7 separate regions of the Homo sapiens genome follow, and all the other regions are linked to region 3. The links are contacts of gene promoters, found by promoter capture Hi-C in blood cells and fetal thymus (Javierre and others, 2016). All regions are on one chromosome and are shown on one strand. Each heading gives the region's core, a stretch centred on a gene start or on the middle of the fragment in contact. The rest is flanking DNA. Distances are from core to core; before and after follow the strand shown. Region 1 overlaps NEDD1 (NEDD1 gamma-tubulin ring complex targeting factor). Region 2 holds the start of NR2C1 (nuclear receptor subfamily 2 group C member 1). Region 3 holds the start of CCDC59 (coiled-coil domain containing 59). Region 4 holds the start of SOCS2-AS1 (SOCS2 antisense RNA 1). Region 5 holds the start of CAND1 (cullin associated and neddylation dissociated 1). Region 6 has its middle 4.0 kb from the start of CRADD. Region 7 holds the start of METAP2 (methionyl aminopeptidase 2).

Region 1 (3,812 bases), core at 70-2,569, about 15 Mb before region 3:
TAAGAATAAGAGTCTGATTTTGAGAGCCATAACAAATTAAAATATCAGAAGTTTAAATCTGTGCTTTTTAGCAATTAAAATCTGTGAGTAAAAGCAATGGAGAAAGGTTAATTAGACACTCAGAATCCCTAACTGCATTAACTTTTGAATGTTCTGTATAACTTTCAGGTATTTTGTAAACAGAGCATAGACTGTAATTTTATTATGATACATGATGCAAATCAAATCATTCCTACCTAGATATTACCATAGCGAGAAAAACCATTTCCCTTTCCTTGACTTCTTCCTGTTTACCACTACTTTTCTCCTTAGAATATAGAAAAAAAAGGACTGAAACATAATGTGGGTGGGTAATCTAGTTCTTTTTTATTTCTCTTGTAGTTTTAGAAATCATGAGAAAGTGAGGAACGTAAGTTAAAGGACAAGAAACAAAAAACTAATCTCTCTGGTGTCTCACATTAACCCCATTCTTGGAATCTATACTATGTGGACCCCAAGTTGCTAAGGCTGGGAACTCCTTGTTCTTCAGTAATTAACCTCCATGGAAGTGATCAAAGCCTTATTAAGAATAAGACTGTATGAAGGCTTTCAGTGCACATCTGCTCATGCAAGAAAACTGTAAGACCAATTTCCAAAAGTCATACAACACTATCTCATAGCTACATCAGTTTTGTTGTTAGACTATTAAGTAGCACATCAGTAAATGCCAACTCCTAGTAAAACTTAAAACAAAAGTCAACCAAAAAATAATCTTACTACAAATTGCTACCTTTCTCTTATATAGTAAGAGGGAAAATTAAGCTCTAAACATAATGAAAATCTAAAAATAGAGAACAGCAACTTCATATACTTGTCGCTCTCTTTAAAATATTTTCCCTATTACACATCTGGAAAGTCCTTCAAAAATGTAGTCACTTCACCATGAGTTTGATTAACAGAGTACCAAAGTAATTTGTTTTACTGCAAAATCAAGGAATGATAAGGAGGTAAATTTAATTCAGTAAGAAAATTTGTCCTTCTTGTTATATACATGCAAGAATAGTAAGTCATATAAAACTTTTAATATTTTTGTTCCTGAACCAGTCACATTTTAAAGCTTTGATTTTTTTATCAGAAAGTAGAATACTTTGGTGTTGATAAAAATCAGATAAATGTTAAATCTTAATTTGTTAAGAAATAGCGTATGAGTTTCACAAAAGAAAATTTCTAACATACCAATTACATAAAACATTTTCACATAAAAGGTGATAGGAGCACTGTGGTCACAGCAGTGGTTCTCTACTGGGAGTGATTCAGGCAATTCTGGAAACGTTTTGGGTTGTCACAACTAGAGGCTATTGGTACCTAACGGGTGAAGACCAATAAACCTCCACGTGGTACAACATACAGGAAAGGTCCACAACAAATTTTCTGCCCCAAAAAGTCAATAGCACAGGGTTCAGAAACCCTAGTTTACAGTCTTCACTCCCTCATTTTATTTTATCCACATTGAGGAGCTCACCAAGACAGGGAAGGTGTCAATCAGAAACATAAAAAGCTTAGAAAAGTTCAATCTAGGTAACTTTACTATGTCTGTTTAGGAAATGTAATTTTCATCACACACACAGAGAGGAAGGAAGATATGGAGAGTACATTAGTAAGATGGAGATATTGGGCAATTTTTTATCTCCTCCCCAACTTGCTTCTGCCTTCAAGTTCTGTCTTTAATTTTCAGTTCAGATCCACAAATACCCAAATGTAGATGCAAAAACTCATTCCAAAACCTTTTGGAATTATTTCCACAACTACCAACCTTATTCCATTTGGTTCAATAAGAAATTTTTGATAACTAATTCTATGGTGTAGACAGAATATACTTTTTTTAATAGCAGTGTTTTCAAATGAAGTGGGTTGTAACTAAATTTTTTTTAAATGAACGCAACAGATAAAATCAGAGTGCATTCATATGATATATTGTTTTGTAAATTACTATTTTACGTTATCTATCCTTGGTAGCAATGCAAAACACATTACTCAGTATGAGGCACATGCAAAAGTTTCATTGACAGTGGTTGTTTAACCTAATAAGCGGTTTGTGTGTGTGTGTGTGTGTTTTTTTTTTTTAAAGGATACTATTGCTGCTCCAACATATTGAGCTGATTCCATGTGGTGATGTGTGTGGGTTGAATTTATCCACCAATGTCATAGATGAAGCATCCCATATTTTAATATCATCTCCTGATGAAGCAAATCTGAGGTTTTCCTGCATGACTGCGCCTACAAATAGTTTAAAACAATGTATTTTAAAAACATTTAAGAATAGACATACTCAAAAAAAGGTCAAAATCTAATCTAAAACAAGTGGCTCTAACTCATTCATTTTTGTTCCAAACAGTGCAGTCACCAAAGCAGTTGAAGTGATTTTCCTAAAACATAAGCCAGGTCGCATTCTCTTAGCTGACCCTTCCAATGGCTCCTCACAGTAATGATAATGAAATCCAGCCTCCTTAGCCTGCCTTACATGTCCTGGCCCCCATGTAACTCTCCTCTTTCTTTTCACTGGCCTTCTCTCTGCCTCATGCAAAGGCAAAGTCATTCTCACCTCAGTGTCTTTTCATTTGCTGCTCCCTGTGCCTAAGATGTTCTCCCCAGATTCCCATGGTCATCTCCTTCTCATCATTCAGGTCTTAGCTCAAATGTTTCCTCCTATGAAAGGCCTTTCCTGACCACCCTGGCTAACGCAGTCCCTTCCTTACCTGGTAAGGGACTTAGCAGTTTACCCTATATCCCAATACCTGATTTCATTTTTTTCATAGCACTTCCTAATATCTGAATTTTTTTTTTTTTTTTTTGAGACGGAGTTTCACTCTTGTTGTCCAGGCTGGAGTGCAATGGTGTGATCTCGGCTCACCACAACCTCCGCCTTCCAGGTTCAAGTGATTCTCCTGCCTCAGCCTCCCGAGTAGCTGGGATTACCGGCATGCACCACCACACCCGGCTAATTTTGTATTTTTAGTAGAGACGGGGTTTCTCCATGTTGGTCAGGCTGGTCTCGAACTCCTGACCTCAGGTGATCTGCCCGCCTCAGCCTCCCAAAGTGTTGGGACCACAGGCGTGAGCCACCGTGCCCAGCCACTATCTGAAATTTTTATTTGTTCTTATAATGTCTGTCTCCCCACACCAGAGTCTTGAAACATTCCTGGCACACAGCAGTTTCACAACAAATAACTACTAATAAGTAACTTCCTAATTTTTAAAAAAAGTATGATAAACTAGCATTTCTGCAGGTCAGAATCCAGTCACACCAGTTTTTCCAAAACTCTAAAATTAGCAATATGGTCAAATGAGACGCCACTAAGTCCCTATACCAATACTTGGACTACGATGCCTTCAATCATTTATTCAGAGCATACAGCTGAAACACGTAATTCTAACAAGGTGATTTCACAAACCAAGGAAGTCTAGAAAACAGAAGGCAAAGAAGCTGCTCTAGACAGGCACTTTAAAGAGCAACAGGTAGTAATGAACGATAAGTGAGAAAAAAAGATGCTCAAAAGTACATGGGAGAAAAGGAAAGGGAGAGGGCACAGAATTATACCTCCCACACCTTCCTAGTATGGAAAGTGCAAGACTACTGCACAGCATTAGTGATGTCACAGGCAGGTCCCCGAGTCACCAATACAACAGCACACCTACGTCTAGTATAAGCCATTTCAGAGGACAAGTTAAAGACAGAATTATAGAAACGTTTCATTCTCGAGACAAAAAGTTAATGTAATTCACTCATGTGCTTCCTTATGCTCCATTCATCCGATACAGTGCTACTAAAAGCC
Region 2 (3,849 bases), core at 817-3,316, about 13 Mb before region 3:
TTGCTGAATTAAATTCCTTCCTATGGATCCCTTCTGATTTTTTTTAAGTGCCTCTAATACACATATCATTCTAGGGCTCATGCCACTTTTAATGTCATTTTCTAAAGGAAAATCTTATCTATGATATTTTCCCTTATAAGAGATAGTTGTTTTGAGTAGGGTTTTTTAAAAGATAAAGGTAGTAGGAAATTTTTTAAAGCCTAAATATCAAATTCCTTTCCCTTTGGAGTTGGGGGAAGGAATGAAGGGGGAGCAACTTGCTCTTTCATATGAGTTGGTCATAGCATGTAAGAACCAATCTTGAAATATCGTTTTTTTTTTAATGGCTTATAATGTATTTCTAGAAATACTTTGTACTTAAAATGATAACAGTTTGTATCTTTTTGTCCATATATACTTTATAAATAAAAAAATTAGCATTGTAAATAATGTTAATATGTATTTATACAAAATAAATTTACTATAATATATTTTGTTGGTGTGATTTTTTTCCCCCTCAAGACAGAGTCTTGCTCTGTCGCCCAGGCTGGAGTGCAGTGGCGCGATCTCGGCTCATTGCAATCTTCACTTCCTGGGTTCAAGCAATTCTCCTGCCTCAGCCTCCTGAGGAGCTGGGATGACAGGTGCGCACCACCATGCCCGGCTAATTTTTTGTATTTTTAGTAGAGACGGGATTTCACCATGTTGGCCAGGCTGGTCTCAAACTCTGACCTCAGGTGATCCACCCGCCTCAACCTCCCCAAGTGCTAGGATTACAGGCGTGAGCTACTGAGCCTGGCCAGCATCATAGATTTAAAGATGAACTTCGGCTAGAGTCACACATTTAAAGATGAACTTCGGCTGGGCACGGTGGCTCATGCCTGTAATCCCAGCACTTTGGGGAGGCCAAGGCGAGCGGATCACTTGAGGTGAGGAGTTCGAGACCAGCCTGGCCAACATGGTGAAACCCTGTCTCTACTAAAAATACAAAAAGCTTAGCCAGACATTGTGGTGTGCGCCTGTAATCCCAGCTACTCGGGAGGCTGAGGCACAAGAACCTCTTGAACCCAGGTGGCGGAGGTTGCAGTGAGCTGAGATCAAGCCACTGCACTCCAGCCTGGGCAACAGAGTGAGACTCTGTCTCAAAAATAAATAAACTTCATTTACCTCTTTTCCTGAAGCATAATTAATGGAAACGCTTCTTCACCTACAAATGATGTTCCTAAAATGGCTTCTACTTCCAAGTTTTAACAAGTCAACTTATTGTGACTTAAGTGAATTAATTGGGTGATAAGGGGTAACCACAAGCATCACTATAGGCATACATATTCTCCACCAAGAATAGTGAAGAGGTCTCAGATTGCCTGTATCCATTAGGCCTATAGTGCAGTCATGCACTGCATAACAATATTTCAGTCAAGGACAGACCACATATACAATAATGGTTGCATAAGATTATAATCCCCTATTTTTACTGCACTTTTTTTTTAAAAGGACTTAGTTTACTTTTTCTATGTTTATATATATTTAGATACACAAATACCTACCATTATGTTACAACTGCCTACAGTATTCAGTAACATGCTGTACGGGTTTGTCCTAGGTTTGTGACTTAAGAGCAACAGACTACAACATACAGCCTAGGTGTGTCTAGGCTAGACCATCTAGGTTTGTATAAGTACGCTCTATGATGAGAGTAAAATGAAATTGCCTAAGGACTCATTTCTCAGAACATATCCCTGACGTGACTATACTTTCATAATTTTCACCTTTGGGACCAGCTTATGGTATTGGCAGGGGTCTCCCTTAAAACCAAACCAAATACACAACAAATAATGCTAAAAGGTAGAGGTTGGAAAAAAAAAAAAGTTTCACTCTCGCCCAGGCTGGAATGCAATGGTGCCAACACTGGACCAGACTCCTGGGCTTAAGCAATCCTCCCACCTCAGCCTCCTCAGTAACTAGGAATACAGGCCTGCACCACCATGCCTTTTTTTTTTCTTTTTTTTTTAAGAGATGGAGTCTCACTATGTTGCCCAGGCTGGTCTCAAACTCCTGGCATCAAGCAAGCCTCCTACCTCAGCCTCCCAAGGCTCTGGGGGCAGAAGCCACTGTGCTCAGCAGAGGTGGATTTTTAATGAGGGATAAAGCATATTTTTACTTGTTAGGGATTGTTTCATGCCTTGATCTCTGTCCGTCTGCCTAGTTCCAGAGAGAAATAACAGAGATGTTCTCATTCCCAGCAAACGTTTGTTTTTCCTTCCTTGGATTTCTGCCCTGAGTTTGTGGCTGCTTTCCTACAGTGCCGACCTAAGCTAGATAAAATAGAAATTTCATGACAAAACAAAGGAGATTTAAAAAAAAACTAGAAATTTCAAGAATGCTTCAAAATCTAAAGCGCAGAGTACTTTGCACACAGGGCAGTTATTCCTGCCACACCTTGCCACTACAGGTGGCCACTGTCAGAATGCGATGTTCCACCAATGTCTCTTCATTTCACAATTTGAAAAATTTTTTTTGTGGAGGCAGGGTTTTGTTATCTTGCCCAAGCCGGTCTCCAACTGCTGGCCCCAAGTGATCTTTCCTTGGCCTCCCAGCAGCCACTTGCCTGGCTTTCATTTCATACATCATTATTGAATAGCAGGCATTGTCCTATGTGCTTGGTAATACATCACTGAGCAAAACAGACAAAAAACGGCCATTGAGGATAATCCTCAATATATAATAATATATATATTATAGAGAGGATGTGGAATATACATATATATGTGTGTGTGTATATATAGAGAGAGAGAGAAAGACTCATTGTGTCACCCAGGCTGGAGTGCGGTGGTGTGATCTTGGCTCACTGCCGTCTTGACTCAGGTGATCCTCCCACCTCAGCCTCCAAGTAATTGGGACGACAGGCACGCGCCACCAGGACTGGCTAATTTTTTTGTAGAGACGGGTTTTCGCCATGTTGGCCAGGCTGGCCTCAAACAACCGGGCTCAAGTGATCCGTCCGCCTCGGCCTCCCAACTTGCTGGGATTACAGGCGTGAGCTACCGTGCCCAGTCTCTAGTGATTATATTCTTGCCCTGTTTAGCCATTATGTCTCTTTACTCACAACAGTTTATAAGTGAAACTTTGCCTTACCATTTGCATGAGTCGGCCTCAGCTTGTCATTATATATAAAGCTTACTAATGTAAATGACGAGTTAATGGGTGCAGCACACCAACATGGCACATGTATACATATGTAACGAACCTGCACGTTGTGTACATGTACTCTAGAACTTAAAGTGTAATACAAAAAAAAAAAAGTTTAAATATGATTGGACTCTACCCCAGAGCCCAGTTTTCCAGAAATTAGAAACAGATATGCCTAAGACCCAGAGGGTTATTTATTACTCAAATCTAAAACGTTGACTCAAAACCTCCCCTAATGCCCACCTTTGGCAAACGATGCTTAAACCTTTGCACGTGGCTTCAAAAATTACCTGGCTGGGAACGCGTAGCTCTGGCGGGGCACTCTGCCTCCAAGCCAAAAGGGGGCAGTGGACTCACAGAGCCGCTGCTCGGCCCTCCGATCCCTCCACCCCACCCTGGGAACGTCACGACCTCCTCTCGCCGCTTCTCCCCGTTGCTAATGCGCAGGCGCTGGCGGGATAGCGCGCCGCCGAGCCGAGAAAGAGGTCACGAACTCTGACCCCCCAGAAATACCCAAACACAGAAAGCTCTCTCCGCCGTGAATCTCGATCCCACATCCCGTCGGCTTTCTTCAACCTCTCTTCCCGGAGCGCCCCCCAATCCACGAGTGGCAGCCGCGGGACTGTCGCGTCGGCGCCCGACGCCGGAGTCAGCAGGGCGCAAAAGCGCCGGTAAGAAACG
Region 3 (3,637 bases), core at 290-2,789:
TACTTAAAAAAACAACAACAGTATTTACCAAGTGCTATTATAAGAGGTCCCTCTAGTGATGCTTTGCATTCAGAGAATGCTCAATGAATAAAGTTCACTAGTAAGGGTAACTTTGGGAAGTCTAGAAGGAAAGTAAAAATCCCAGAAGCCTGTTGGTGTCCATCATTCTACTTCCAAAATATGCTTGCCTGAGAAGAATCTACATTTCTTGAGGGTAGGAAAAGCTTGAGCCTACAAAAATTCAAGACACATATTAGGTACTTTAAAATAGTTTTTAAATGAAATAGTGACTATCCGAATACCATCCTAGTCCAAGATACAATCATCTGTTGTACTACTGAGGTAGTCTCCTAACTGGCCTCTCAGCTTCAGCTTTTGCCCTAGTCTATTCTTCAAATAATTCACAGTTATCTTTTCAAATGTGAATTAGGTCACTATGTTGCCTAAATAATCCCAAGGGTTTCCGTCACACTTAAAATCCAAAATCCTTCCAAGGCCTAGAAAGGCCTGTGCCATCTGGCCTCTGCTTGCCTCCCGTCCTGCACCTGCAGCCCCTCACCTGGCTAGAGCCAAGCCTAGCCTGCGGTTCCCACCGCCTGCAACCCCTCCCTGTGGCTCTGCAGCTAGTGCCTTCTCATGTTCCTGACCTCCTAAATTGAGGCAGCCTCCTTACACAATCCCTACCACATTACACTGTTTTTATTTTCTACTTCATTACCACCACTTGAAATTATCTTTATTAACTGTTGAGTAATCTTCCACCACATGCTGGCATTTATAAAACCTGTGAGAGCACTGCTCCCCTAGTTTCCCTAGCGTCAATTATTATGGAATTACTAGATGAAGGAACTCCCCTGCCCTGTTTCCTGCTTTCTTTAAATTGTGGACATACACAAGCACCCAAAGAAAGAGTGATCCTGATTCCAAAGAACATCCCCACCCCACCCCTCAACTAATCCGACCCCTCCTCGGTTTCCCAGCGGGCCGCCCCGCCTCCGCCGCCACGCACCTGGTTCTGCTGGCTTCCACCAGGGGGCTCGCTTCGTCTGCCGGGACCTTCTCCTCCGCCTCCCTTCCCGCCCCGCCTACCCCACCACCCACCTGCTTCCCACTCTGCTTCCACTAGGGGGCGCGTCTCTGAGGGCAGGGCCTCCGTCTCCGACGCTGACTTCCTCAGCGCAGCCAGCACTGTCTCCGGTGGCAAGTCGACCAGCTCCTCCCACACGGATTCTGTGTAGAAATCCACGGTATGTGCATTGGAAATGGACAGGGCATCCCTCAGGAACTGCAGCAGTCCCTGCAACTTGGCACGCAGCGTGGGCAGGTCCGGGGTCACCGGGAGAGGGCAAGAAGCCGCCATGACGCTCACCCTCCGAGGCTGTAGGTGGCGCAAACATGGCCGTGAGGCGCCAGCTCGGCCCAAATTAGCACAGGCAGGCTCAGTAGAGCTCCGAGCCGGATTCCTTCTGAGCGATTGATTGCTTCGGCTTGGTGACGTATTTTGTGGGCGTCCGTCGTGGTCTTCTGATGACGCAGTTAGTCGGCTGCAATGGCGCCGGTGAGGCGGTCCGCGAAGTGGCGGCCTGGTGGTATTGAGGCGCGTGGTGAAGGGGTTTCCACTGTCGGGTACAGGAATAAGAATGTGAGACAGAAGACATGGCGGCCTAACCACCCGCAAGCCTTCGTGGGGAGCGTTCGCGAGGGTATGTAAGAAGGCAACCATTTGCAAATCCTCAGGCTTGCTAAGTTTTAGGATATAAGATTCGCTGAAGCTTGGAAGAAGGATTTAGGAACCAGACCCGGTCCTACTTGGGGCAAGGGAATTCATTCCTGAGCCCGCTAAAGCTGTGAGCTTCGCAGAGCTCTAGATAGGAAGACGGAGCAGTGTTGCTATTATTTAAACGTCTTTTCTGACGTAACCCTGTATTTCATCAGAACTTTTTTCCTATATTTTTCCTGAGAAACTGAGCAGAGAGAGTCTATGACCCTGTGAACTCTTGCGCATGTGGTAAGGTAAAGGATAGAGAGGAGGACAGGGCCAGAAACACTGCTCCGAATTCTTCCTTATTACAAATACCCGAGGCCCTCCAGCCTTCGCTTTAATTTGTGTTTGTCATTTTGTATTGCTGTCTGTAAGGTCTCTTAGATCCCACTTGGAATATATAAATGTTAAATTCAGTCTTCCGATAATTGCTAGCTTTTCAGACAACCATACACTGTCTTTTTCTTTCGTGTTGAAACATTTTCGAAAACATGTAGTTTGTCCAAGATACTAGATGTGGCATTTTCTTTCCTATTTTTTAAGCATTTATTGAAGGCTCAGATTAAGTGTTTTAGATGAACTAAGGAATTTGTTTTGATTTGTGAATACAGCTGTAAACTCAAGTTGTGCAACAGTCTGAACTGGTCAGTTTTTCTTTGAGATTCTTACTTGGATTTCCGCATGACTGTTAGCCTGGTCTTTTTGCAAAGGGCCAACTTACTATGCAATCCATCAGCTTAAATTTGTTGCTTGAAATAATTTTTTAAAGCAAAATATAATACTAGAATCTGAATGTGATGACGTAAAAAAAGTTTTCATTTGTAATTAACAGCTCCATTCTTCGTTCAACTTCTTTTCTCTGAAAGTAATTTTGGATGATATTCCTCAATGTAGGACAAGGCTTTGCTTTTCGAAGAAAACTGAAAATACAGCAAAGTTACAAGAAATTGCTACGGAAGGAAAAGAAGGCTCAAACGTCACTGGAATCTCAATTCACAGATCGATACCCAGATAATCTGAAACATCTCTATTTAGCTGAAGAGGAAAGACATAGGAAGCAAGCAAGAAAAGTCGACCATCCTTTGTCAGAACAAGTTCACCAGCCGTTGCTTGAAGAACAGTGTAGCATTGACGAGCCTTTATTTGAAGATCAGTGTAGCTTTGACCAGCCTCAGCCAGAAGAACAATGTATTAAAACAGTAAAGTATGTATTTTCTTCATTTGAAATCCTTTAAGTGTTGTTTTATTATTTAAAAGTACTATAGGATAATTTATATAGGAATTGTATTTTTTCTTATTTAACACATTTTAGAAGTCACGGTTTAATTAGGGAAACATTTTCATGGAGGCTCTATTTTTAGCTTCAATAACTGAATTAGGCTGGTTTAGCCTAATTGACAAAGTAACGTAATGGGAATTAAGAGCTCTGGAATTTGGGTTTCTTCCTCTCAAGTACAGGTGGTAACTTGATTGGACCATATGTTATGACTATATTTTTGAAAAATAACTTCTGAGAGGTGTTATAATTTTAGTCATTAACAGTATGGGTTCTAGAGCCAGACTCAACATGTTAGTGCCCCAGTGACCTCTTCTTTAAAATGGGAAAAATAACACTATGTCCTCTTTAAATTGGGAAAGATAATACTGTAATGAATATATACTTCAGAGCTGCCATGTTGCACAGCTCCAGAATGGATTACTCACATAAACTCAGGTGTTCCTAAGGTGTTTCATGACATTGTTGTGAAGACTCAGCGAGTTAATGTATATGAGGATCTTAAAGGGTATATATGGTACGTGGTTAGTGCTCTTGAGCGTTAGCTACTACTATTAATCTGGATTTTCTGCAGAGGACCAGAAATGGGTTGCAATTGC
Region 4 (3,915 bases), core at 931-3,430, about 11 Mb before region 3:
CCCTGGGCGCGCCGACCATGGAAGCCGCGCTCGGCGGGGGCTTCGCAGCCTACTCTCGACGCCCGGGCAGCCGCCCTCGCGGCAGTGTCAGTCCCTGAACTTGGCCGCCAAGATCCTGGGCTGCAGCCGCAGCTCCGCCCGGGAGCCAGATGCTGCTGGGCCTGCGGGGCCCGCGGCACCGACTTGCTGATTGCACCCCGTGCAAAGGGAGGCGCCCGACGCTTTCCCCGGCCGGGGTTCGAGCCCGGGAGCCTAACCCTGAGCAGCTGCGGAAAACAGTAAATCTTCCAGCGTGCTAAGAAGCTATTTCCAAGAAGCTCTTCCCGCGCTCTGCGCTCCGCCAGGCCTGAGTCCCTGGAGAACCACTTTCCTTACGCATTCCCAAGGACCCAGGACCCTGCGAGCGTGCTCTCCGCGGTCCCTTGGAAGCAAGGGACGTATTTCCATCTTATTCTTTGCTTCCCACCTCGACCCCGCTTCCTAGCTGCTTCCTTGGGGAGGCGCTCCCTCCCGCACGCGTCGCGGCCGATCGGCTCCCTACCTGTCTGACCGAGCTCCCGCAGGGCCTTCGCCAGACGCGCCGCCTGCGGGGATGGCTCCTCCGCCGACCCCGCGGTCCCCCACTGGCTCCGCGTCCCTTCCCCGCCATTCCCGGAGGGCTCAAGGCACCGCAGGGTCATGAGAGAAGGGTCACCGCGGCAAAGACAGGTGGCCGCCCGAGCTGGGGTCAGAGAAGGGTTCGCGTCCTTCCTTGAAGTCAGTGCGAATCCCAAAACGAGTCCCTGCGGGGTGTCCGAAATGGTGGCAGAGAGAGAAGGGATGGGGCTCTTTCTCCCCAGATCCTGGAGGACGGATGACAAAGTCCCTCGCAGCCGCGGTCACCCACTGATCGCCTACAAAGAGAAAGCGGGAGGTTGGGTCAGTCCAAACTGGACCCCTGCGGCTGGGGTGGGGGTGGGGAAATAGACGTGGAAAATCCCAGGGACTCCTCCGCCTCTACGTTCCTGCACCATTTAACCCCAAGCTTCCAGTTAGCGCCCTGGCCCAGCTCTAGAGAAAAGATAAAGAGAGCAGAGATCCAAGATAAAGTTGGCTGAAGAGGTGGGGGGCGGAGGTCAGGAGGAGGGTGAACAGGGTGTCTTCCCGCCCAGGGTCACTAGCTGAAATCAAAGACTGGCGACCTAGGAAGAGCAAATAGTCACCTGCAGATCCAGTGGGAATAGGCCCTTGTCAAGGACAAGTAGAAAAAATTAAAAAGGAAAGAACAGGAGAGATTCCCCAAATTGGCATTCCGGTCTCACACCTGGCGCAGCCCGAGGGCCCCCAGGAAGAAGCACCCACACAAACTTGGTTCTCCGCCCTAAAGCGCTGCGGGGCCCCGAGGCACCAACCCGGGGTGCGGAGGTGCGGGAGCTGCCGCATCTCCGCCCGGGAGGCTCCTCGCTCCCCTCCCCCCGCTTCCTGGTGCCCGCTCTGGCGGGGTTGGGGGTGCCGCGGCGGTCGCTCCCGGACCAGGATGGCTGCGGTGGTTCTCGCCGCCGCGGGCGCTGTCGAGGAATCGGCCCGAGCGCGCAGCCCTCGCGGGGCTCCGAGGCGAGGCCGGGGCCGAGCGGGCGGTCGCGAGCGCTGCGGAAAATGCAAACCACCAACGCCGCGCTCTTACCTCGACCTCGGCCGCGGCCGCCGCCGCCGCCTCCGCACCAGGCAGCCTCCTCAGCGGACATGGGGCGGGGGGGTGGGGGGAAAAGGGGAGGTGGGAGGGGCCCGGGAGAGGAGGGGCGTCTGCCCTTGTTTCCCCCGTTAACGTTTAATTTGGGAACGAGATGCCCGGGGATGCAACCAGCCCCGCGCTCGGAGGCGGCGGTCGGAGTTCCGTGCGCAGAGGGCACACAAAAGCCTCGAGGATCATTGCCTCGACCCCATCCCCCACCGCGCGGCGACGCCCCCTACGGGCTGGGACACCTCCACTCTCGGACTGCTGCCGGGTTTCCCTCCGGCTGCGACCCTGGAGGTGGGAAGGAGAGAGGGAGGGAGGGAGGAAGGAGCGAGGGCGGGAGGCAGGCCGGTGGGGAGGAGCGGGAGATCAGGTTATTAGGAGGATTATTAATTTGAATGGCAGTTTAGGGGAAATAAAAAAAAGAAACTCCAGACACTTCCAGACGCCGAGAAGGGGCTGGAGAAAGCAGGCAGCAACGCTAGGCCGCGGGGCAGAGCCGCGGTTCGGACTCTCTCTTCCCCGGCGCTCCGAGCTGCGGAAGCCCAGGCCGTCCGCCGCTCCCCGGCGCACGCGGCCGCGCCTCGCCGCCCTCCCCGGTAACTCTCCTCGGGGCGGAGCCTTCGGGCTTCCCCCACTACCGGTACCTGCCGCGGGCGCCCGAGCTGCGGGCACGGGGTATCCTGAGGCTGTGCACCCGGGACCCCGGCGCGCACTGTCCGCGGGCCACGCGGTGAGGGTGGCTGCGGGCGAGAGGGCTCATGCTTCAGGGGAAGCCCAAGGCCCGCCAGCCGCGGCGGCTGCGACGAGACTTGGCAAGAGTTAAACGTCGGTCCCAGGAGCAGCGAGTGCGCGCGACTTCCCAGACCGACGCGCCTCCCTTGCTCCCCGCCTCCCTCCCCAGTCAGCGCTCCGCTCGCGCCCCGCCCGGCTGCTGCGGAGGCGGCTTTCCAGGAACTTTCCAGGAATCGGCCTCACGTGACCGCGGGCCCCGCTACTGCTTTAAAGAGGCTCGGTCGCAATACACAGGCTTCAGGGAAGACCGGGTGAGAGCGCTCGGGTGCAGGGCGGGCGGTGTGCACGCCGGGGTCGGCCTGCCTCTGGCCCCACACCCCGGGGTGCTCGGGCGCAAGCTAGAGATCTCCCCGGCCACCGGCTACAGCCAACCCCGTTTCGGCGGCCGGAGCCTGCCCCCTACCCGGGCCAGCTGAGCGCCCGGGTTCAGGGAAGGATAGCGATCCTTGGCCCTTGGCCTGCCACGGGGGTGGGTTCCTCTAAACATCCCGGCGGCGCCCCCTCGATGCGACCCTCCTGGCCGCACTTTTGCGGGGGGTGGGCGTGCAGGAGCGACTGTGGGTCCTCGGAAACCAGACTCTCCGGCTCTAAGACACATCGATGGCGTGGGGACGCCGTGCTCGTCCCGGTGCCCACGGCCGGGGACCGGAGGCGGTCCCCTTGATCAGGTCCTGGAAGGCAGCGAGCGGGAGAGCAGCGCCTCCTTAAGCGGCGCCGGCCGTCCTTAGTCCCCTCCCCCTGGCGCTCCGGCTCCTTGTCACCCGCACCCACCCGGCTCCTCCCTTCCTCCTCCCCTCTGCTCCAACGTCTCCGGTAGACCCGGCGGCCCGCCCGGGTCACCTGCGCCGGCTGCTAAGGGGGCGCCCTTACCTGCGCGCCCGGAAGGGGCTTGGTGACTGGCCTCGGTTCCCTCAGTCCGGAGAGTGTCTCTGCCATTCCCTGCAGGGCTGACGCCCCAGGGCTGGGATTCGGAAGGATCTCGGCACCTCTACCCTACCTGGGATTCTCACCTCCAACCCCGTTGGAGGCCCCCTGGCCTTAGTGGAAACTCATCTCCTTGTCTGCGCACCCGCCCCCGAAATATGACCTACTTGAAATGTGACCTACTTTTTAAAAGAAACCCTTAACAATCACGGGAAAACCGGATCCAAAATTTCGATAAGCATTTTTCTTTGAAATACTATTCTATTGCATCACTGCTCGAAAGCTTGAAAGGTCAATGGCCACTTTTAGTTGAGGCCGCGGCTATGGGAAGTTGGGCGAGGAAGGGGGAGGGGTGGGAGGGAGGCGCGTCTTGCAAACTTTGCCTGGTGCCCCCCCTGCCGGCTCTGGGAGGAAACGGGAACCAGCTCCCAACCTTGGGGTCTGCAGCCGGGGACCAATGGTTTTCTCAATAATTTTCCTGC
Region 5 (3,544 bases), core at 891-3,390, about 15 Mb after region 3:
TAGCCTTTCTAAACTTATACAGGAGAATGACTAGTTGAACAAAATTGTATTATTATAAAGTGCTACCTTCAGACTGAAATTGACCACAATCAGAATGAAATTTACCACCTTTACAGGATGAGCCAAACTGACAGCAATGGGGAGGAAATCACGCCACACACCTCATCCATTACTTGAATTGGAAGCAAGCAAAGCCCCAAAAATCAAACGGCATTCCAATCCGTAAAACAACACAAAACCTTTATTTCCCCCAAGAATCTTAATTTTGGCCCTAGAACTACACAAATCTAAAACACACAAAACAAACATGTCACCTCCAAAAAGTTACAATACTAAAATTTTTACCATTAGCGAAATGATTTTTAAGTTTTAAATACATTTAAGAGCTGCCTAGGTAGAAATATTTTTTAAAGTAATACGTGGTTTTGTGGTCATTGATTATTTTAATAAGCCAGTATATCAATTTAATCAGGAACACAATTACTACTTTTTCATGGTTCTCCTTTCACAAATCCGAAAAGTTCTTCCCAGTCCACACGGTTTGGACACATTTTCAAGTGTTAAAACATATTGTTCATACAAAACAAACAAGCTCTTTAGTCACAATTTTAGTTGAAGACTATTTGTTATTTCCTTTAAAATGCACCCAAATTACAACCACTAAGCATTAGAGAACAAAACAGGTATAAGGAAATAAGCGATTTTTTTTTCTTTTTTTTTTTTTTTTTAGATTGAGAACTTATTTGTGAAGAGATGGGAGGCGGGAAAGAATGCAACAATCACCGAAGCGTGCAAGGAAAAATAAAAACAAAGATAACCTGTAAAAATATAACAAATCTTCACTATGCATATTACAACACTTTGGAACCAACAGTACCGATCTCCTGAACAGAACTGCTGTAATAAAGCTTCATATTCACCAGGTCCGTATTAAACATCTCTTCCTTTTGAAGATCCGTCTGCTATGATTAAGATCCAGCAATCCACCCCTTTGGCAGTGATTTTGGATATGAGGACATGAGACTGAAACCCCGAGTTCCTAAGTTGGTTTTACCTGACAAGAGGAACTGACAGTGATGCTGGCGGGAAAACCCTATGAGCGAAGTTTCCTCCATCCTGGCTCCCCTCCCCCTTCTTCCCACCTTCACGAAAATTAATAATCCACAAAAGAACTATGTATCAGCCAAGAGCGCAAAAGTTCATCATTCCACCTGAATGCAGCAAGGCCCACGCGCACCTGCGGGCAGAGAGGAGGCTGCCGGGTCCCCGAGTGGGCAGCAGCTTGGGCCCCAGCGAGCAAGGCGGCCTAGCGCCGCAGGATGGCAAGCGAATAGGCCCGGCGCCCGGTCTCCCGGCCTAGAGCAACTCCCTTCTCCACAATGGTGGGTGGTTTAGCCCCTTCGCGCTACCTGAGACGCAAGAATCGCCTCCTGGTGGGGCAGGGAAGGATGTGGGGGCGCTGAGACAAGCAAACGGGGCCTAGAGACCGCGGCGGGCAACTGCCTAGGAGAAAGAATGGGGGGAGGGGGTTGCAAGAGGGGAGAGGAAAGGGGCTCCGCAGGGATCGGGAGGCCAGCGGACCGGTGGGCTGGAGACTTCGGGGCAGAGAAGCTACCGGCTACGGCCGAAGGGGTGGGGCAAGGCCTGCGTGACGGCCAGGGCCGCGGCTGCGAGAACCCCGAGGTGGGGTGAGGGTCGGATCTCGGCCTCACCTAAAGTCCTTGTCGCTGGATGTCATTTTTTCCAGCAAATTGGAAATGTGGTACGAGGCGCTCGCCATGTTGACGGCCTCGATCCCGCCTGCTGGCGCTGCTGGAGCTGCTGCCCGCTGCCGCTGCCGCCGCCGCCGCCGCCACTGGAGCTCCTCCTCTCGCTCGCGGCGGCTCCCGCTTCCAGGGTCGCAGCGCGACGCCGACGCTGACTAGGGAGGCGCCTCGACGGGCTGCCCCCTCCCTGGCGAGGCGTGGGCCTGTCCCGGGGTAAGCCGAGGCTACAGAGCCAGCCTAACGACGGCGCTGTTCGCGTGAGAACGAGCTCATGGGCGGCGGGGCGTACAGAAGGGCCTCTACGGGGAGCCAGACACTTCCACTCAGGGCCGTCTCGCTCCCACTCGCTCCGCACTCGCTCCCTAGGGCAAAAGGCCAAAGCCCGCCTCCTTCGCTCCGGGGGCGGGGGCGGCAGACGCGGGCGCTACGGAAAGCTAAGGTCAGAGTTCACGGAGGCCTCCCCACGCACGCTGTGGAGAAGAGAGTTAAAAAACAATTCGGTTGGCTGAAGCCTGTGTCAGTTTTCATGTGACCCGCCTTTTGGAGGCATGACAACACAAAAAAAAGGGGCTGTTCTCGCGAGACTCTAAAGCGACGGTTAAGGGACAGGGGACGAGTGGAGCAAGTGGGCCTTAATCTGAAAATAACTTGATTGTTTAATGACATTAAGAGAAAAAGATTACGAGCTTTGAGAAGGAGGAAGCCTGGGAGTAACGACAGTTAAGGAGTTAGCTTGCGGAACCAACATAAGAATTTATAACAGGGAGGTGTCGTTTGGGATCAGACGCGTGGCCTGCATTGCCGTAGCCACCGTGGTGTAATGTTGCCACGTAAAAACCACAAATCCCAGAATTCAGTCGGGTGATACACTGGCTCAGAATGTGATTGGCTGCGGGAACTAGTAGCTTCCTCATTGGCTCCCGTGGAAGGAGTGAATGCTGGGATTTGCAGTCTGATGGGGGAGCCGTGCTGGGTAAAAACCTTAGAATCGTCGCGCACTCCGTTTCTGCCGCGGATTCTTATATTCTCCAATACAGGCTTTTTCTGTTATGCAGTATTTGCAGAGCAGGCTGCTGCAGTTTGGCCAGGCGCATTGCGGATCAGTTGGTGTTCTTGCCAGAGGCCTAGCAGCAGCTTCCTAGCGCTACTACTTGCACCTCCCAAGGCAGCTGAGCCTCCCCACTTCTCTGGCCAGACACACTCCTACCGTGCATCGTAGAACCACCTCTCTGACGCCAGCAGGACCTTAGTAAGAGTAATGGGTATGCGACAGATGGCTGTAGTCAGGCCCTACTGATTTCAAAATAGCTAAAAGACTATCTCTGTAGTTAGCTTTTGTGGCCTTGATGGACCTGCAGCTGTGTATTGCTCCCTCAGACGTACAAATTCGTGGAGATGAGTTATGAAAGTATTTAGTATCCAAGTTTTTCATCTGCTTAATATTTGGGATTTTAAACACAAGTTTTGCCAGCTAGGGGTCAACATCCCTGAAAGTGTTAGGGATGGAGCTAGCTGACAGGCCTTTCTAAAAGAACAGAGAGCCTGGTGAAGAGATGAAAAATCAATCTCACTTGATACTCCTGTTAAAAACAACAACAAACCTTTAAATAGCTCTCTACTAACACATAACTCAAATCCGATCAAATCTACCTGACCTTTACCATTGTTTTCTGTATTCATCAACTATTACTGAGTACTTCAAAGTCAGGCAATAGGAGTTAATAAAACAGATGAAACTTGGTTTAGCCTCATAATATGTGTTTAAATTTCACACATAC
Region 6 (3,602 bases), core at 996-3,495, about 11 Mb before region 3:
CATCTCTACAAAAAATACAAAAAATTAGCCAGCCATGCTTGTGTACGCCTGTAGTCCCAGCTTCTCAGGAGGCTGAGGTGGAGAATCAATTGAACCCGGGAGGTGGAGTTTGCAGTGAAACAAGATCATGCCACTGCACTCCGGCCTGGGCGACAGAGAGAGACCCTGTCTCAGAAAAAAAAAAAAAAAGAAAGAAAAAGAAATGCTCCAAAACCTGAAGCTTTTTGGGTGTCAACATGACGCCACAAGTGGAAAATTCCACACCTGACCTTATGTGATGGGTCTCAGTCAAAACACAAACCTTTGTTTCATGTGCAAAATTATTTAAAATATTGTATAAAGTTACTTTCAGGCTATGTGTATAAAAAGTATATATGAAACATAAGTTTTGTGCTTAAACTTGGGTCCCATCCCCAAGTTACCTCATTATGTATATGCAAATATTCCAAAATCCCAAAAAATCCAAAATCCAAAACACTTCTGGTCCCAAGCATGTTGGGTAAGGGATCATCAACCTATACTAACTTTTTTAGAGAGGAAAAGCAAGTGGATTTTTTTCTAACTGTGAACTTCGATAAATTTCAAACATATAGGAAAGTTGAAACAAATAGCGCAATAAACGCCCATATAAAGTTTCATATTTCTTGATGACTCATCATATTTGGAAAGGCTTGAGATCTCCTAGAAGCTAGAAGGTGAGCCTTGATGATGATGCCCAGGAGGAGGTGGGGAACCAACAATAGGATCCGTGAGGGTTCACAGAAGAGAAGCAGCCAGAGACAGCAGGAGAGTGTCAGGGCAGCAGCCGAGGGGCATGGCGTCCTATGGTAAACAACCTGAAAGGGTGGCCATTAAAGATCTGACTTAAATCTGCAGCGTGAAGTCTTTAATCATCGAATGCCTCTTCCCATGGCAAATACAGATGAGGATCCATGCTGTCTCTTAAGCAACTAGGCTGAACGACTAGCCCACTGCCATCAGCCACCCCACCTCAGCATACAGCGATACTTCATGGCAGTACACCAAAGACCCAACTTTACTTAGACAGATTAGCTAAGGCCAGAGGGCTTCTAAGGAATGGAACACAGATCAGAATCATTATCACAGGTGGTTACTCCTCCGCTCTGGCCAGACCCTCTGTAATCTGAAATTGTGCCCCCACGGAGGATTAAGCACCTGTTACCCAGTGGTAACGAATCCACAGGAAGGACAGATATTTTCATTTTTCTCTCTCCCCTAGTATGTTTACTTGTGTCAAGATATCCCTATTGTGAGTTTGCAAAATAAAGAGTCAAAAAGAACAAATGCAGTATTTTTCTCTTTCGGTTTGGTCTTTGGTTTTGCAGCCTTCAAAAAATAAATAAAAGGAATTGGATGTTTTGGTTCTTCCTGTTTCATTGATGTAGAAATTAAGTCATGGGGAAAACCAGAGTCTTTTCAAGCATACTTGAAACATTTATTAAAATAGATCATAAATCAGGTCACAAAGAAGCATTAATAAATTCCTGAAAATCACTAGCATACAAACTATGTACTCTATAATTATACAATAAAATTAGATATTTTGACAAAAGGATAGCTTCCATAAATCCCATAAATTTGGAAACTAAATAAAACAATTCTTAAACCCTTGGGTTTAAAAAAAAGTCACACCTGTATAACTAATAAAACATAGAAAGAAAGAAAGAAAAAGAAAAACGTGATAGTAGAGAAACCTGGCAAACATCGCCTTAACCAAGTGATCAAGGTTAAACCTCCCCAGTAATTAGTCATGGAGATATCATGTGCTCCAATACGATGTGACAAGAAAGGCATATCTCCTTTGCAATATTCTCCTTTAAAATTCAGAACCTCAGTGTTTTTGTAAGAAAACATCAGACAAACTCAAACTGAGAGATATTCTGTTAGGTTGTTGCAAAACTAATTGTGGTTTTTGCCACTACAAAATATCTGACAAGTACTTTCAAAAGTGTCAAGGTCATGAAAGACTGAGAAATTGTTACAGATTGAAGAAGACAAGGAGGTGTGACAACTTGAGGCAGGGAAGGAGCAAGAGAGGGAGGATCAGAAGAGAAAGAAGGAGAAAAGGAACTCCATAAAGGACTTGCTCATAGTCAGGGAGAAATGAAAACTTCTGGGACCAAATTCCTAGTCCCCATTTTATCTTAGCTATTTTCTTGACATGCAGCATAGAATTTCATATGGTCTCTATTTCCTGGACCAACGCTCCCCAAAAAGAGATGAAATAAGAATTTGTCAAAAGAAATACAGACATCTATCCCTGTAACTGTAAATCCTTAAAAAAAAAAAAAACTCACTTGAAATATGCAAGTGTTGCCTCTTTCTGTATAACTTTTGATTAAGATATGCTGTAGATAATATCATCTGCACTAATAAATTATTATTTTACTAAGTTATGAATTCCAATGATTCATTCAATTCTTTGCTATCTAATTTTCATCTTAATTACTGTTTGTTGTAAAAATCCTGAGACTATTTACAAAAACCTTTTAAAAGAGCCAAATACATTATTATGCAGAGTATCATGTACTAATTTAATACTCCAACAATTCTAGAAATTTGAAGCATTACACCATAAGACTTTAGTGGTGGTAATACTAGGACTATTATAATTTATTAATAATTGACAACAAGAAGTTTCTATTGAGCATTGATTACATGCTATGGTCAGCTAGGGATAACCCACTGAAAGACAGAGATGGTCTTAGTCTTCATGGAACTTAGAATCCCGTGGAGAAAACAAACTTTAACAAGGAAACAAAACAAAAGTAATAATTACAAATTACTATAAGTGCAATGAAGGAAAGGTGCTTTAATAAGATAAACTGGTTCAGGGGCTGGGAGATGGGAGCTGATTCTAATTCAGTCTTCGGAGAAAGCCTCTCTGAGGAGATGACCTTTCTCCTAGTTTTCTTCCAAAGACTTGGCAGGAGTTATAAAACTGTACTACACACGTTTAAAAGATGTCCGGGCATAGTGGCTTACGCCTGTAATCCCAGCACTTTGGGAGGCCGAGGCAGGCAAATCAGTTGAGGTCAGGAGTTTGAGACCAGCCATGGCCAACATAGCCAAATCCCGTCTCTACTAAAAATACAAAAATTACCCCACCATGATGGCACGCGATTGTAATCCCAGCTACTCGGGAGGCTGAGGCAGGAGAATCACTTCAACCTGGGAGGTGGAGGTTGCAATGAGCTGAGAGCATGCCACTGGACTCCAGCCTGGGCAACAGAGAGAAACTCTGTCTCAAATAAGTAAATAAATAAATAAATAAATAACAGCTGGATTAAAAAAAAAACAAAAATCAAGAATTTAAGGTATTAGGACACAAAAAGGTATGAGGACATGTTAAAATAACTTCTTAGTTTCCTGGCACTCACAGTAAAAAGACAACATCATTCATATTACTGTAGAGTTCTCATCTCTCAAAGAAAGAAAATATACTGAGTCACCTAAAGGGACTAATATTTCTCTGGCACTGGTTTCAAGCAGCAATTTATCATATGATTCTTTCTATAAGGAATATCAGATAAGTTAATAAACTGCCATTTTCTCGTGTTATTTTGCATAAGATACTAAAA
Region 7 (3,971 bases), core at 848-3,347, about 13 Mb before region 3:
AGGTGTGTGCCACCACACCCGGCTACATTTTCTAGCTTTTCTAACCACAAAGATCAAATTAACCATTTACCTTCATCATCTTCATCTCTTTCTTTATCTTCCAATGCTGATCTTTCCAACTGTCTTGCTACTTCATCCACTGAGGCTCCTGATTCTTTATCAGGTTCCTGTTCCCCTGCTGATCAAAATAAAATAGCAGAAATCAAATCTAATACAGACACTTTCCCACTAGAATATGCTCTAATGATCTTGGAAAACTTACAAATCCTTTCCTCAGGAAACAAAAACAGAAACATTATTGTGAACATAACAGAATTCGTTTAATGACAGAAAAATCTTCCATACCTACACAGTATTGTCCATTCATTAATTTACTCAACAAAATATCCATTACACACACTAGCAGCTAAAAGATAAACAGCGTGAACTGGTCTCTATCCTCAAGTAGTTTAACTTGTAATAGTGGTCAGCAATTAGACTTAACAAATACTTAAACACCAGATAGGTAATAAATGCTGAAGGCCTTAGGAAAAAGATTCATGTGCAACACCCCGGGGCAGCCTGGTTTCATGAATAAGGATATCACGATGGGCTGGGTAAAGTCAAAATAAATAGGCAAAGACAGTCCATTACTAAAAAACTAAAACGCTCAAATATCTAAGCACAAGACCAGGCCCCTGCTCTGGAAGTGATTATAACCTACCTATAAGAGCAATATGTTACATGCATTAATAGTATCAGGTAGCACGAAATGAAGTGACATTCTGGCTACTGGAGAGAATTCATATTAAGAAATACAACTGTTAAAAATACATTAGGATCAGTCAGCTTAACACCTTACAAGACAAACAGCAGTGTTTGAATTTCACTCGAAATCCAGGAACAGCCACCAGAGTAACAAATTTTGCTCTGGAAGAGTTCCAGCAACGCTACAACTCTCCTTCCATTCCTATCTAATCAAAATTTCAGAAAGATGAAGATTAGCTCTCTTCGACCTCTCTCAATTCCATCTTAATCGCTTCTGACTTCTCCATTTTCTGTTTCTCTGGCGATTTTAATTAGAAACAAGTAAAAATAATTTTTATTAAGGTGAAGGAGCTTGTGCAGCAAAAACACAGACTTCTCAAAATATGTAAGTTCCTAGTTCATAATATCCAACTGTAAACTCTCAGCAGTTCTCCTTGCCTTACCAGTGGATTTAGAGGTTAAGACCTCAGAAGTTCCATTCTGAGCCACAGAATATCCTATCTGCACTGCCTGCAATTGGTATCATAATTCAGGTCTAAAGGCCCTAAAGCTTGGCGATGCTATGGGATTAGGCAGGTGAAAATTCGTTATCACCACCACAAATTCTGCAATTAATGACATGAGCGCGCGGGCAAACACACATGTACACACACCCCAAAAGTGCAGGCTGCAACAACCCCAACGTGAAACGGGATAGTGGGAGGAGGTGTGCTCTCCATTACATTTGCCCACCCCCAAAGAAAATAAGTCCTAGCTTGCTCCAGCAAACCAGCAAAGACGCGGCAATACGGATCAGAATCGGATTTTTGAGGCGGCGGCCAAATCGCGCGAAAGATGGTAGGGCTGTGCTCTGCGCACAATCTCAAGACCGTGCCACGATGTGCGTGGGAGCTGAGTTCTGGTAATACAGGGGCTCGGGCCCAGCGACCCCAGAGGTACCACACGCCAACCTCAGGCACTCTTTTCTCCCCCACCAGCCCTCTAGTCCCACAGGAGGAGATGACGCCTCTTCTCAGACTAGGAATCTATAGCCCGGCTTTGCCACCCTGTCAGGCCCAAGAATCAGTCTAGTCGGGGCTCTGGGGCCCCGGTCCCGGCCCCCTCAACGGGCCTGAGCCAAACAGTTCAGCCGTTCCCGGAGGGGACTGGGAAAACATAAAACTCTCTTTACCTGCAGAAGGCCCTTTGCTCTTCTTCTTCTTTCGTCTTTTTTTCTTGGCTGCTTCCTCAGCCGTAGAGGCAGCTCCTTCTTCCCTGTCGTCTGGATCCAGGTCGCCATTCAGGTGGCTCCCGGAGGCCGCTACCTCCTCCACACCCGCCATGTTGCCCGAGAGAGCGCGAGGGAATGAGACAGAGCGGCGAGGGCCCCGATCCTTCTCCACCCGCCTACACCAGCCACGCCGGAAGCTGCTCTCGATGGTAGGGACGCAGGGAATGCTGGGACGGCGGAGGACTCAGCTGAGGGTGTCGGGCTAGCTTCGGGCCGGGCGTGCAGGAGTCTCGGCTTGGAGCCCCGCCTGGCTGGAGTCGACTGGGGCCAGACCCGACTGCTTCGTCCGGTGCCTCGGGCATTCCCGAAGCAAATCGGCAAGCGCAGGGTGAAGTTTAAAGGGGAAGTTGAGCTCTAGAGTCAGCCGGAGATACCTGTGGAGACGGGCAACCCGCCGTAGCAAGCGGCGTCTCTGCTGGAACGGAAATATTTTATATTTGCGTTTTTATAAATCACACAGGCAGTGGGGAAACGGGCTAAGAAATGTGTTCACTTGTACACATTTCTATTGTCATGACTCCACATATCTCTTAAATCTAAGAGATTTAATCAAATCTGCGTTGACATTCACAATCACAGCTCTCCGCGAGGCTCTGTAGGCACTGGAGAGAATTTTGGAAGCTGGAGTTCCGTGTTAGTTTATTGTACTACTCAACCCCGGACGGTTCAAGATGGGAACCCGTCACACTCCGCTCACTTTCCAATTCAGGACAAGAATGACAGGTTTTAACACACGGGGACACGGTCTCTCTCATTAATGCAAAAGATCACACTCCGTTTTCTCTATTTCTGGTCACCTTTCTTTTGGATTTAGGACGTTTCACCAGAAACTAATTGAATTTTGCCCATTTCTTTACTTCTTATGTTTTGAGCCTCATGTTCAAACCGCAGTTTGAGATTTAGTTTGTGGCGTAAGTGGATTGTGATTGGCTGCCTGCACCAACTCCTTCTCAATTTCTCCTGAATATGGCTTTGTCCACCTGGAGAGTTTAGGTGTTTTCATTAGTTTTAAACTAGGCACCAAGCTTCATGGGCATCAAAATGTCGTTAAGAGCCTTATTGCCAGTGAGTTTACAGTAAACCTCACACAGGCTCTGACTGCAGCTGCATAAATGTACATTCTCTGTCTTAAAGCTTCAGGCAGCACCTATCCAATAGTAATAAAAACTGTTCCTCTTATTCTTGTACAGATCTTTATCTCTTTAAATCTATCCCTATTTAGATTTTAAATTGTTTTCCCTAGTTGATTGCTGGCAATATAAAAGTTGGTAAACCGGCCGGGCGCTGTGGCTCACGCCTGTAATCCCAGCACTTTGGGAGGGCGAGGTGGGCAGATCACAAGGTCAGGAGTTCGAGACCAGCCTGGCCAATATGGTGAAACCCCGTCTCCACTAAAAATACAAAAATTAGCCGGGCGTGGTGGCAGGCGCCTGTAGTCCCAGCTACTAGGGAGGCTGAGGCAGGACAATCGCTTGAACCCCGGGGGAGGTTGCAGTGAGCTGAGATTGCGCCACTGCACTCCAGCCTGGGCGACAGAGCGAGACTCCATCCCCCCCAAAAAAGTAAATAAAATAAAAAATAAAAAGTTGGTAAACCAAACATAATACCACAAAAATAAAAATAGAAGTAGCTTCCATGTGTCCAAAATCCTTTAAAATGCCCGGCAAGACCCAGCCATATCTACTTCTCCAATGTCTCCACTCTCTTACTATTATAGCTCCAGCTCTCAAAGCTCTTTCTGACCTTGGAGCATTTCAAACTCACTGTTACTTTTATCTGGGCTGCTCTTTGCTTGGCTGACATATTCACTTATTCACTCATCCATCCATTCGTTCAATGCCTACTATAAACCTAGATCTGGCAATATTTAGAGAGCAAAAACAGAGATGATCCTTGTCATCATAGAGCCAGTTAACAAAAATAGACATCAAGCAATGATGCTAATAAAAGCAAA

The links. Contacts are between HindIII fragments. The CHiCAGO score rates a contact against its expected background, and 5 or more counts as called.
Region 1: a contact is called between a fragment that was not itself captured here and the fragment with the promoter of CCDC59 in region 3, in 3 of 17 cell types (fetal thymus, total CD8 T cells and activated CD4 T cells). The highest score is 7.4, in fetal thymus.
Region 2: a contact is called between a fragment that was not itself captured here and the fragment with the promoter of CCDC59 in region 3, in 1 of 17 cell types (total CD8 T cells). The highest score is 13.2, in total CD8 T cells.
Region 4: the fragment with the promoter of SOCS2-AS1 here is called in contact with the fragment with the promoter of CCDC59 in region 3 in 1 of 17 cell types (total CD8 T cells); the score reaches 7.9 in total CD8 T cells.
Region 5: a contact is called between the fragment with the promoter of CAND1 here and the fragment with the promoter of CCDC59 in region 3, in 1 of 17 cell types (total B cells). The highest score is 18.7, in total B cells.
Region 6: a fragment that was not itself captured here is called in contact with the fragment with the promoter of CCDC59 in region 3 in 1 of 17 cell types (total CD8 T cells); the score reaches 6.0 in total CD8 T cells.
Region 7: the fragment with the promoter of METAP2 here is called in contact with the fragment with the promoter of CCDC59 in region 3 in 2 of 17 cell types (total CD8 T cells and non-activated CD4 T cells); the score reaches 12.5 in total CD8 T cells.

What each region holds. Positions count from the first base shown.
Region 1 is chr12:96,908,196-96,912,007 of GRCh38, reverse strand. NEDD1 (NEDD1 gamma-tubulin ring complex targeting factor) reads right to left here. Exons shown (of 16, transcript NM_152905.4): 3 at 2,113-2,256. The coding sequence starts at 2,248. Among named protein-coding and RNA genes, the nearest start is that of NEDD1, 2.8 kb to the right of the region's middle. The HindIII fragment of the contact is 441 bases long and covers 1,099-1,539 here.
Region 2 is chr12:95,073,370-95,077,218 of GRCh38, reverse strand. It overlaps NR2C1 (nuclear receptor subfamily 2 group C member 1), which reads left to right and starts at 3,601. Exons shown (of 14, transcript NM_003297.4): 1 at 3,601-3,839. FGD6 (FYVE, RhoGEF and PH domain containing 6) reads left to right here. Exons shown (of 21, transcript NM_018351.4): 21 at 1-470. RefSeq lists enhancers at 3,504-3,823, 3,514-3,849. The HindIII fragment of the contact is 2,182 bases long and covers 976-3,157 here.
Region 3 is chr12:82,356,289-82,359,925 of GRCh38, reverse strand. It overlaps CCDC59 (coiled-coil domain containing 59), which reads left to right and starts at 1,539. Exons shown (of 4, transcript NM_014167.5): 1 at 1,539-1,703; 2 at 2,657-2,966. The coding sequence starts at 1,550. METTL25 (methyltransferase like 25) reads right to left here and starts at 1,397. Exons shown (of 12, transcript NM_032230.3): 1 at 1,102-1,397. The coding sequence starts at 1,360. RefSeq lists enhancers at 609-1,169, 1,100-1,659, 1,170-1,730. The HindIII fragment of the contact is 1,548 bases long and covers 227-1,774 here.
Region 4 is chr12:93,569,663-93,573,577 of GRCh38, reverse strand. It overlaps SOCS2-AS1 (SOCS2 antisense RNA 1), which reads left to right and starts at 2,180. Exons shown (of 4, transcript NR_038263.1): 1 at 2,180-2,313. SOCS2 (suppressor of cytokine signaling 2) reads right to left here and starts at 903. Exons shown (of 2, transcript NM_001270471.2): 1 at 542-903. The coding sequence starts at 680. RefSeq lists an enhancer at 100-239 and silencers at 1,457-1,766, 1,777-1,826, 2,187-2,466, 2,837-3,026, 3,087-3,136. The HindIII fragment of the contact is 2,692 bases long and covers 1,027-3,718 here.
Region 5 is chr12:67,267,954-67,271,497 of GRCh38, reverse strand. It overlaps CAND1 (cullin associated and neddylation dissociated 1), which reads right to left and starts at 2,140. Exons shown (of 15, transcript NM_018448.5): 1 at 1,713-2,140. The coding sequence starts at 1,780. RefSeq lists enhancers at 1,374-2,025, 2,305-2,564, 2,705-3,004. The HindIII fragment of the contact is 8,089 bases long and covers 911-3,544 here.
Region 6 is chr12:93,671,616-93,675,217 of GRCh38, reverse strand. No RefSeq gene overlaps it. Among named protein-coding and RNA genes, the nearest start is that of CRADD, 4.0 kb to the left of the region's middle. The HindIII fragment of the contact is 4,045 bases long and covers 223-3,602 here.
Region 7 is chr12:95,472,278-95,476,248 of GRCh38, reverse strand. It overlaps METAP2 (methionyl aminopeptidase 2), which reads right to left and starts at 2,097. Exons shown (of 11, transcript NM_006838.4): 1 at 1,919-2,097; 2 at 71-178. The coding sequence starts at 2,069. RefSeq lists an enhancer at 1,881-2,280. The HindIII fragment of the contact is 1,745 bases long and covers 1,300-3,044 here.